Regions from separate parts of the Homo sapiens genome. Here region 1 is linked to region 2. The links are contacts of gene promoters, found by promoter capture Hi-C in blood cells and fetal thymus (Javierre and others, 2016). All regions are on one chromosome and are shown on one strand. Each heading gives the region's core, a stretch centred on a gene start or on the middle of the fragment in contact. The rest is flanking DNA. Distances are from core to core; before and after follow the strand shown.

The links. Contacts are between HindIII fragments. The CHiCAGO score rates a contact against its expected background, and 5 or more counts as called.
Region 1: a fragment that was not itself captured here is called in contact with the fragment with the promoter of ROPN1L-AS1 in region 2 in 1 of 17 cell types (total B cells); the score reaches 9.1 in total B cells.

Annotation. Positions count from the first base shown.
Region 1 is chr5:12,021,946-12,026,456 of GRCh38, reverse strand. No RefSeq gene overlaps it. Among named protein-coding and RNA genes, the nearest start is that of CTNND2, 120 kb to the right of the region's middle. The HindIII fragment of the contact is 700 bases long and covers 2,384-3,083 here.
Region 2 is chr5:10,439,539-10,443,772 of GRCh38, reverse strand. It overlaps ROPN1L-AS1 (ROPN1L antisense RNA 1), which reads left to right and starts at 1,922. Exons shown (of 2, transcript NR_102746.1): 1 at 1,922-2,085; 2 at 2,400-3,038. ROPN1L (rhophilin associated tail protein 1 like) reads right to left here and starts at 1,894. Exons shown (of 5, transcript NM_031916.5): 1 at 1,475-1,894. The coding sequence starts at 1,605. It overlaps MARCHF6 (membrane associated ring-CH-type finger 6), which reads right to left. Exons shown (of 26, transcript NM_005885.4): 26 at 3,385-4,234. RefSeq lists a silencer at 1,781-2,040. The HindIII fragment of the contact is 3,763 bases long and covers 945-4,234 here.

The DNA of each region.
Region 1 (4,511 bases), core at 1,484-3,983, 1.6 Mb before region 2:
GTCATAGACTGTGTAAGTCAATGACATAAATTGTAATCTCCAAGGTAACTATTAAAAGAATACTAAAATCATGTTTAATTGACATAATTGTAGGGAAAATGACAAAAATATGTTTGATTAATACAAAGAAGGCAAGAAATTAGAAAAATGATTTTTAAAAAATTAAATAGAAAGCAAATAGAAGAATAAAATGTATATATTGATAATTACATTAATTATAAATTGACTAAATAAGCCATAACGTTAAAAATATGATGACAAAAAAGTTATAAGCACAATTATCTAATCATTACAAAATGTGTAATGAAATTTATGCTTAATTACTGATTATTAGGATAGCTCTAATGTTAGCTCTTATACCTACTATAATTTTAAAGTAATCATCAGTTAATGACAATTTGAGTATCTGCAACAAGTACAAAATATTATAAAAATAGAGATAATTTCTATTGGTGAGAAAGTCGCAAGGACTTCTTTTTTTTTGGTTGTGTGATCTGTGCGAATCAAGTACTTCTTATGATGGTTGTCTGCTTACATTCATAAAGGAAAGAACCACTAAATTTAAGTTAGTGATTGTGAAGACAACATTTTAAGTATCTTCTATTCATTATATTGTAGATCAATGAGATTCTTTTCATGTCTTCTCTGTGTACTATGAAGAATTTCTGTTTTAGAGAAATAGAAGAGTTTGATATGGTTTGTTCACTGGATGTGAGTGACTGTGTAGGTACACCTGCCATGCATAGTGGATATCAAGCTTAGGAGAAAAGAGAGGTAAGATCTGCAGGGTCTCATGCCAATAAGGGGGATTTTAGATTTTAACCAATATATGACAGAAAACCATCAAGGATATTGGATGGGGTAATGTCATGATGGATGCTTTTATTCTTAGAATGTGCATTGAAAGTCAGGTAAGTGTTCACAATAGCCCCAAGAATGCTCAGTAATAGGATTTAAGGCATTTTGGGCGGTACAACTTCAAGGCATTTACTGCATCCCTACCAGCCATATCACTTTTAAAAGAAATAGACACCATTAATATTTCATTCTCTTTAGAATTCTTATAAATATAGTTCTACTGAAAAATATGGCTTTTGGATCATCATTATGCAAAAAATTGTTGGTAAATCTTTCTGAAAAAAATCCTCACTGAAAGGTGTCTATTACCTTCCACTTTCAGGTTAGAGTAATATTTTAGTCAAAAAGAGTCAACAAAAAGTATTTTCAGAGAAGAATGTTGGCCCTGCCATCTGATATCCCCTTTGCTCCCACCTGGTGAATATCTTTACTTTATTTATTTATTTTTTTGAGATGGAGTCTCGTTCTGTTGCCCAGGCTGGAGTGCAGTGGCACAATCTCGGCTCACTGCAACCTCTGCCTCCAGGGTTCAAGCGATTTTCCTGCCACAGTCTCCCAAGTAGCTGGAATTACAGGTGTGCGCCACCACACACAGCTAATTTTTGAGAATGAGATGAGGTTTCACCATGTTGGCCAGGCTGGTCTCAAACTCCTGACCTCAAGTGATCCTTCTGCCTCCCAAAGTGCTGGGATTACAGGCTTGAGCCACCACACCCGGCCTAACTGGCAAATGTCTTCAATGTATCCTCTGTTTTCACAGATGGGTGTAAATTCTACCTTAATTCAGCTGATTCTTAAAAGTTTGTTTCTTCCCCGACAAATACATGTAATATCATTACAGATACCTGTAAGGGAATAATATCGAGTCTTCTGTCATTCTGTATCTTGTAAAAGTTTGGCTGAGACAAATATTAATATGACATGCAAAATTTTAAAAGATGTGAGCTTCATTAGATTTCAAATCATGGAAACAATGCGGAAAAATATTGTGTGTGTGTTTTTGCCATCTCCGTGAGTTCTGACATCTAATGCTGATTGTATTACCCAGTTTGATCCAAACTGTTTACATTTGCTGATGTAACTAATCATGTTTTCCAATGTTATTCAACATTACTTAGATTTTATGTTTATGAGCACACTAAAAACTTGTATTGAACTTTTGTCTTTTACGGTAATTAACAGAGTCTGGTTATGGTGTGATTTCCTAAAACCCCTGCCCTACGTTGTAACAGAGTAAGGAGAAAATGAGAAAAGATAACACTTCACAGTCTCTTGTTGATATCCTACATAAGGTATACCTTAAAGCAAACATCCAAATATTATCATCCAAATATAAACTGATTATCAATATAAAGTTATAAACAAAATAAATTATAAACAATTTTAAAAATAAAGATACTTGTTTATGTCTACCAAGAGCAAATTCAAATAAAAAACCCTTGAATTAATGCCAAATTGACTTTAATTTCATTATTACATTACTAGTTTATAGTACAATATACCATATTTTTCATATGTTGAAGCTTCGAAAGAATCTAAGGTCAAATCAAAGATCATGTTTAATCAAAACAAGAGGAAAAGGAAGTAAAATGTCTTTACAAAATGTTAAGATTCTCATATTCTATAATAATAATCAGGCTCTTCACCTTAAAAAACTATCAGGGTAGTTCAATTCGAATATCTCTATCAGTATTTTCTACTAAGCTGCCTTTAAGTACTGAAATTAGAAAACCATTAATAACATCAGACTTTTCTTTGCCCAGTAGAGGGCAGTGCTACATATGGAAACCAACTTATTACTTGGTTCTTTGAGAGTTTGTGAATGAATGACCCCATTAACTCCTGTACCTAATGTAAGTTGATTTTTGTTCCTTAAAATAGACAATCAAATTCAACGGAACTAAGTGGCAATAGAAATATGGAGAAGTAAAATGTCCGCACAGCCAAGCAATAACTACAGAGCTGTGGCCGCATTGATAACACTAATATTGTTTAATATGAGTTATACAAGTGTTTTCAAGTAATGAGTCAAATAGCAATGTACATGAGAGTCAGAGACTAGATAATTCTTCAGGATTAATATTCAAAAGTAATATTAGAAAAACATATAAATTACCTTTAATTGTCTTCTTGCTTACTAGAATTAAGGTAGGTAACGTCCCTAAAGAGTAATGCTCTGAAAAATAACCTAATTTAAGATGATGTAAATTCCATTCCTTGAAGCTTTTACTCTGGTTGAATCTCCACGGTGATTGATTCATTCTTTTAATTAAAAATCCCAAATTCATGAGCCAGTTTTAGTTCACTGTGCTATATCTTATGATAATATCAATATCCTAGCACCAAAAATTGAAGTAATCTCTTTTCAGAGATACTGAAACAATAGCAAAAATGGGTTTTTTTTCCCCAACATCTGAGCACTTTACTTTAAAAAAGCAGGCACTGTAATATGTGTAATATGTAATTTTTTGAGGAAGACAACATCTACTCTTTTCTACCATAGATAGCTTCATTTGTTTCTACTCTATAAACTTATCAAACCAGCTCCTAAAAATTACTATGGTAATTTGTCAATTACATCAGTTTGACCCATATCCTCTTAGATAGAAAGTTTACCTTCAAATATTTCCCCAATATTTCTTAATTTTAATTATTCCTTTAAACCTATTTGATTTTTTATTTGTAAGCATAAATTTAATTAATTATTTGAAAAATACTTCGTTCTGGATGTGTAGTCTTTAGATCCCCTTTTTCGGATTTATAGGTTTAGGAAGAAGTTATATCTTCTTTATTTTGTGAGGTGCTTAGAAATAAATATTTGATGATGATGATAAAGTTTCCATAGGATTTCTTCTCTACTCCATTATCTAAATATTCACTAAGAGGAATGTCTAAAAGAATTAAATAAGTATGAACATGAGTTAAACATTTCCAGTTATTTCATGTTGCAACACCTAAGTCAACATTGCCATATGCCGACTCTCCTATTAAAGCTCTCTTCAGGGAGAAGAACTTGGTAATCCGATAGAAAATTACCATTCAAAAGAATTACTTTTTAAAAAGATACTGTCTCCACTATAAATTATTTTATATGTCATTCTTTGACTTGAAAAATATGTACCCAAATTTTTCTATGATAACAAATGTCTCGATATAAATTATTAGATGAAAAAAGCAAAGCTAATCTGAATGAGAGAAAACTATATTATAACACACAGTGAAATGCTCTTAGTTTAGTCTAGTTTAATTTGTAACACCACTGTAATTTTAGATTCCGCTACTTACTCACCTGGGTTAACTTGGTGATCATAGTTAATTGGAGGTAATATTATCTTCCTTCGAAGGCTGAGGCAAGCATTATAGGGGAATGTATATGACACACCTGTCATAAGGACCAGGATGTGTTTGTTGACTAGTAAATACTTACGACTCTTATTAGCTCTGCAAATCACTTTTTATTTGATGTTGGGCAAATAATTAACTTCTTTGAATCTCTTCTTCACCACTCAAATTGGAATTATAATACCCACTTGTTTTTACCAAAGAGTGATGTTAATTTGAGATGAGATAATAATAAACGTAAAAGTGTGAAAGCACTTTGCAAGTGACAGAGGGCCGCATAAATATTAGGATATATAATTAATTGGGAATAT
Region 2 (4,234 bases), core at 673-3,172:
AGGCAAGGAAACGAGCTGGGTTTTCCTGAGAACCACTGGAAAGAGCAAAGCCCTGTCAACACCTTGATTTTAGCCTAGTGAAACTAATTTGGACTTCTGGCCTCCAGAACTGCAAGAATGTATGTCTGTGTTTTTTTTTTTTTTGAGACGGAGTCTCGCTCTGTCGCCCGGGCCGGACTGCGGACTGCAGTGGCGCAATCTCGGCTCACTGCAAGCTCCGCTTCCCGGGTTCACGCCATTCTCCTGCCTCAGCCTCCCGAGTAGCTGGGACTACAGGCGCCCGCCACCGCGCCCGGCTAATTTTTTGTATTTTTAGTAGAGACGGGGTTTCACCTTGTTAGCCAGGATGGTCTCGATCTCCTGACCTCATGATCCACCCGCCTCGGCCTCCCAAAGTGCTGGGATTACAGGCGTGAGCCACCGCGCCCGGCCCAAATGTATGTCTGTGTTTTAAGCTGTCAAGTTTTGTGGTGATTTGTTACAGCAGCCAAACGAAACTAATTCACTTTGGTTATAGAGTTTAAAGCCAGCAAAATTTGGCTGTTTTTTTTCTTTTTAAATTAGTTTTCTTATTAAAAAAAATACAGATGGGGTCTTGCTGTGTTACCCAGGCTGGTCTCAAACTCTTGGGCTCAAGTGATCCTCCCAGCTTGGCCTCCCAAAGTGCTGGGATTACAGGCATGAACCACCAAGCCCAGCCAAAATTTGAAATGTTGATGACTAAAATATTTAAATTAAATTTACACCTGTGCTGACTCTTGTCATCATAAAAGTGAGTTTTTGTTTTACATCTGTTTATTGAAAAGGGGCAAAGAGCTCTCCTGTAAAACCAAGAGGATTTCTTTTAATGCCTCTAAGATCTGTTGACTTGTAACTTTGAGATTATGAATGTCTGTTCCTGGCAAGTGTTGGAATGTTTGTGGCAAAAAATAAACTGTGAAGCTTCATTTGCTGGACAGTTTACCCTGAGCACTCTAGGGATGATGACCTCAGTATGACCACGGTCGTTCCGGTTCTAATAAATTTAACCAGCTCTGGGTATACATAGCTCTGAGAGGACTCTCTGCAGATGAGGAACTTAGCTAAAATATTCCTCTTTGTAAAGTCATTTCACAAAGTGACTGCAACCGTGTAATTTTTTTAACATAATGTAAACACTTTTTTGCCCAATGCAATTACTTTGTTAAGTTTTAGTCTATCTTCATCATAAACACTTTTAAACAATTGAGTTGCCATTACGTTGTAGGTAAGTGAGCATTTTGCAATGATTTCGGGTCTCATAGTCGATAAATCGAAATGGTTCCTAGATAAAACACTCAAGTATAGATGTCACCAATGCTAAGGGGAAAGTTTTGCCTGATACTCTTAAGGACGCTGAGTGCCGCGTAAGGCCCCTGGTCCGGGAGGAGGGCTCTCTGGGCTCGTCTGGCTTGGGCATGTAGACCGGACAGCTCCCCGGGCCAAGGGCGCTTACCCCGCGGACCACCGCAGCACGTCGGCCGGCTGGGTGCGGATGGCAGCCTTGGTGAATTGCTTCAGGATGTCCGGCAGCTCCGGGGGAATGTGGATCTGCTGAGCGCAGAACATGGTGTCGGGAAGCGGCATCGCTCTCCGCAGAAGGGACCAGGCTGGTGAATCGCGGCGCGCTGCGAGGAAGAAGGGCGGCTGTCGGCTACGACGCGGTGGACCCGCTAGCAGCGCGGGGCTTGCGGCCAGGGCCGCCTCCCATCCCGTTCCCGAGGTTGGGGCCGGATTCGCGGGGCTCTTACCCGCTCCTCCGCGGGCTTCGGGAGAAATTCGGACCAACTGCCACTCCGACAACACCCTAGACCCTGCAGTTCCCTAGCGCCAGCCGCCACTACGGACGCGCTCGGTATCCAGGCACCCGGGACGCGAGCAGGCCCCGCCCCTGGAGCCGCGCACGCGCACGCGGCCCTGAGCGAGGCGGGGCTGCTCCCGGGCTGGACAAGGAGGTGCTGGCGTAGTCCGACTAGCAGCAGCCGCTGCTCCCCGGTGGTTCAGAGCCGCGCGAGCTGAGCGTTTCGCCTACAAAAGCATCTTCGGATCGGTTTCCCACCGCCGAATGTGAGCGGCGAACTCACGAAGGACTCCCTCTTCCCCTTGCTCTGGCTGCGTGAGGCTGAGGCTAGGGGACTCGGGCCTGCTAGGAGGGAAGCGGGTTAAGTGAAGGGGCTGATCGCCTGGGCGGCACGGGCCCCGCTGCGGGACCCGCCTGCGCCTGGGGCCGCTCCTCCAAACTTCTCGGGCTTCGAACTTCGCACATGCTGTTCCCTGGCCTAAGCCATCCCGTAGTGAACCTGAGTTCTTAATTTAAAAAGCCGCTTAGACAGTGGGCAGTTTCCAGCTAAAACACTATTGTATTTGTTTTCTTACGATAGGTTGCTTGAGCCAATGTGACTGGCTCTAGGAGGAAATAAATCACATCTGTCAAAAGAGCCTCGAGTCGAAGGATAGGAGAAACCTCGAATTTGGTGGGTGCTGACCAAGGCACCATGCAAGGGGTTAACTTTGCTTTAGGGGGTGACCTGGCTGGCTGCTGCAGTTGCCGTTAACAGCCACCGAATGGATGAGACTCCAGATCCACCTCCTCCTGCGTTCCTCAAAACAGGAAGATGGAGAACTACGGAGAGCTACTTCCCAGAGGGGCCGATGGCAAGCACTCCCTTCAAGGAAACTGGGGAAGTTGCCCGATTTTGATCGTTTCCATCCAAACACCCACCAGACAATATATACATACACATTTCTAAATTAACAGCATTGGCAAAAACTGAAAATACTTGTATTTAAAGTTGATGACAGTATGAAAACAAGAAATCCGTCCGGGCGCGGTGGGTCACGCCTGTAACCCCAGCACTGATCACAAGGTCAGGAGTTCGAGACTAGCCTGGCTAACATGGTGAAACCCCCTTCTCTACAAAAATTGGCTGGGCGTAGTGGCGCGTGCCTGTATTCCCAGCTACTTGGGAGGCTGAGGCAGGAGAATAGCTTGAGCCCGGGAGGTGGAGGTTGCCGTGAGCAGAAATGGCACCACTGCACTCCAGCCTGGGCGACAGAGTAAGACTCTGTCCCCGCCCCCCTCCACCCAAAAAAAGAAAAAAAAAAAAAGGAATCTTCTATGTTGTTGAGAGGGATGTTAATTAGTACCTTTATGGGGCAGTAATGTAACACTAAAATTTTTCGATGATCGTGCAATATTACTTCTGGGAACTTACCCTACAGAAATACTATAAAAAGTAATATGGACAAAAATCTTCACCATATAAATTGGGTAAATGTCTTTTGGAAAACAAATCATGGCCTGGCCACACAATGGTATGAAAAGATGCCCGTGTAAAGTGAAAAAAAGCATCTTGTCAAACAATCTGCATAGTATGACACCTTTATTGTGATAAATGATTCTGTGAAGGTATGTCTGGAAGCACACAACTAAACTATTAACAGCAGTTACCTCTGGGAAATAGGACAGGGATTTCAGGTTTTATTTTGGCCATAGACACATTATTTTGATTCTAAATTCATCATTTATTTACTAACTTAGCATTACTATTGAGTACCAAATATTTGCCAGGGAATTGTTCTGGGAATACAGTAATAATTCAGTTTAAAAAAATAAAATCTTTGGAGCTTACATTCAAGTGGGAAACAACATGCAAATATAAACAACAAAGGTAAACCATATAGTATGTTTAAAAGTACAAAAGAGAGCCGGGAGTACAAAATACAGCAGGGAGATGAGACAGGAATGCCCCAGTAGCTGCAGCTTTAGATAAGCCTCAGTGAGAATGACACTTCAGGAAAGAAATGAAGAGGCTAAAGAGCCTGAAGAACATTTGGGTATTGCAAATAGTAAGTGCAAAGGCACGAAGGCCTGACCTGTTTTGGAGGCAGGGAGGACGGCAGGAGCAGGGTGAACACAGAGGTGATGGGGTCAGAGAAGGGAGAAAAGGGGTGCTTCATGTTTTGCCCAGCATTGAAGGCTATTGTGGACTTTTGAGTGCCATGGTCGTCTATTGGAGAGTTCTGAGGGTTGGTGTGATCTGACTTGGATCTCAAGAAGAACATTCTGGATTCAATGTTGAAAACAAATGGAAAAGGAGAGAGAGCAGGGGCAGAGGCAGCAAGCTCAGGAGAAACAGCGATTAAGTAAACAATGGGTTTACTTGTTCAGTTTTGAGACTTCTTTATGTAATCTAGATGCAACTCATTTATCAGA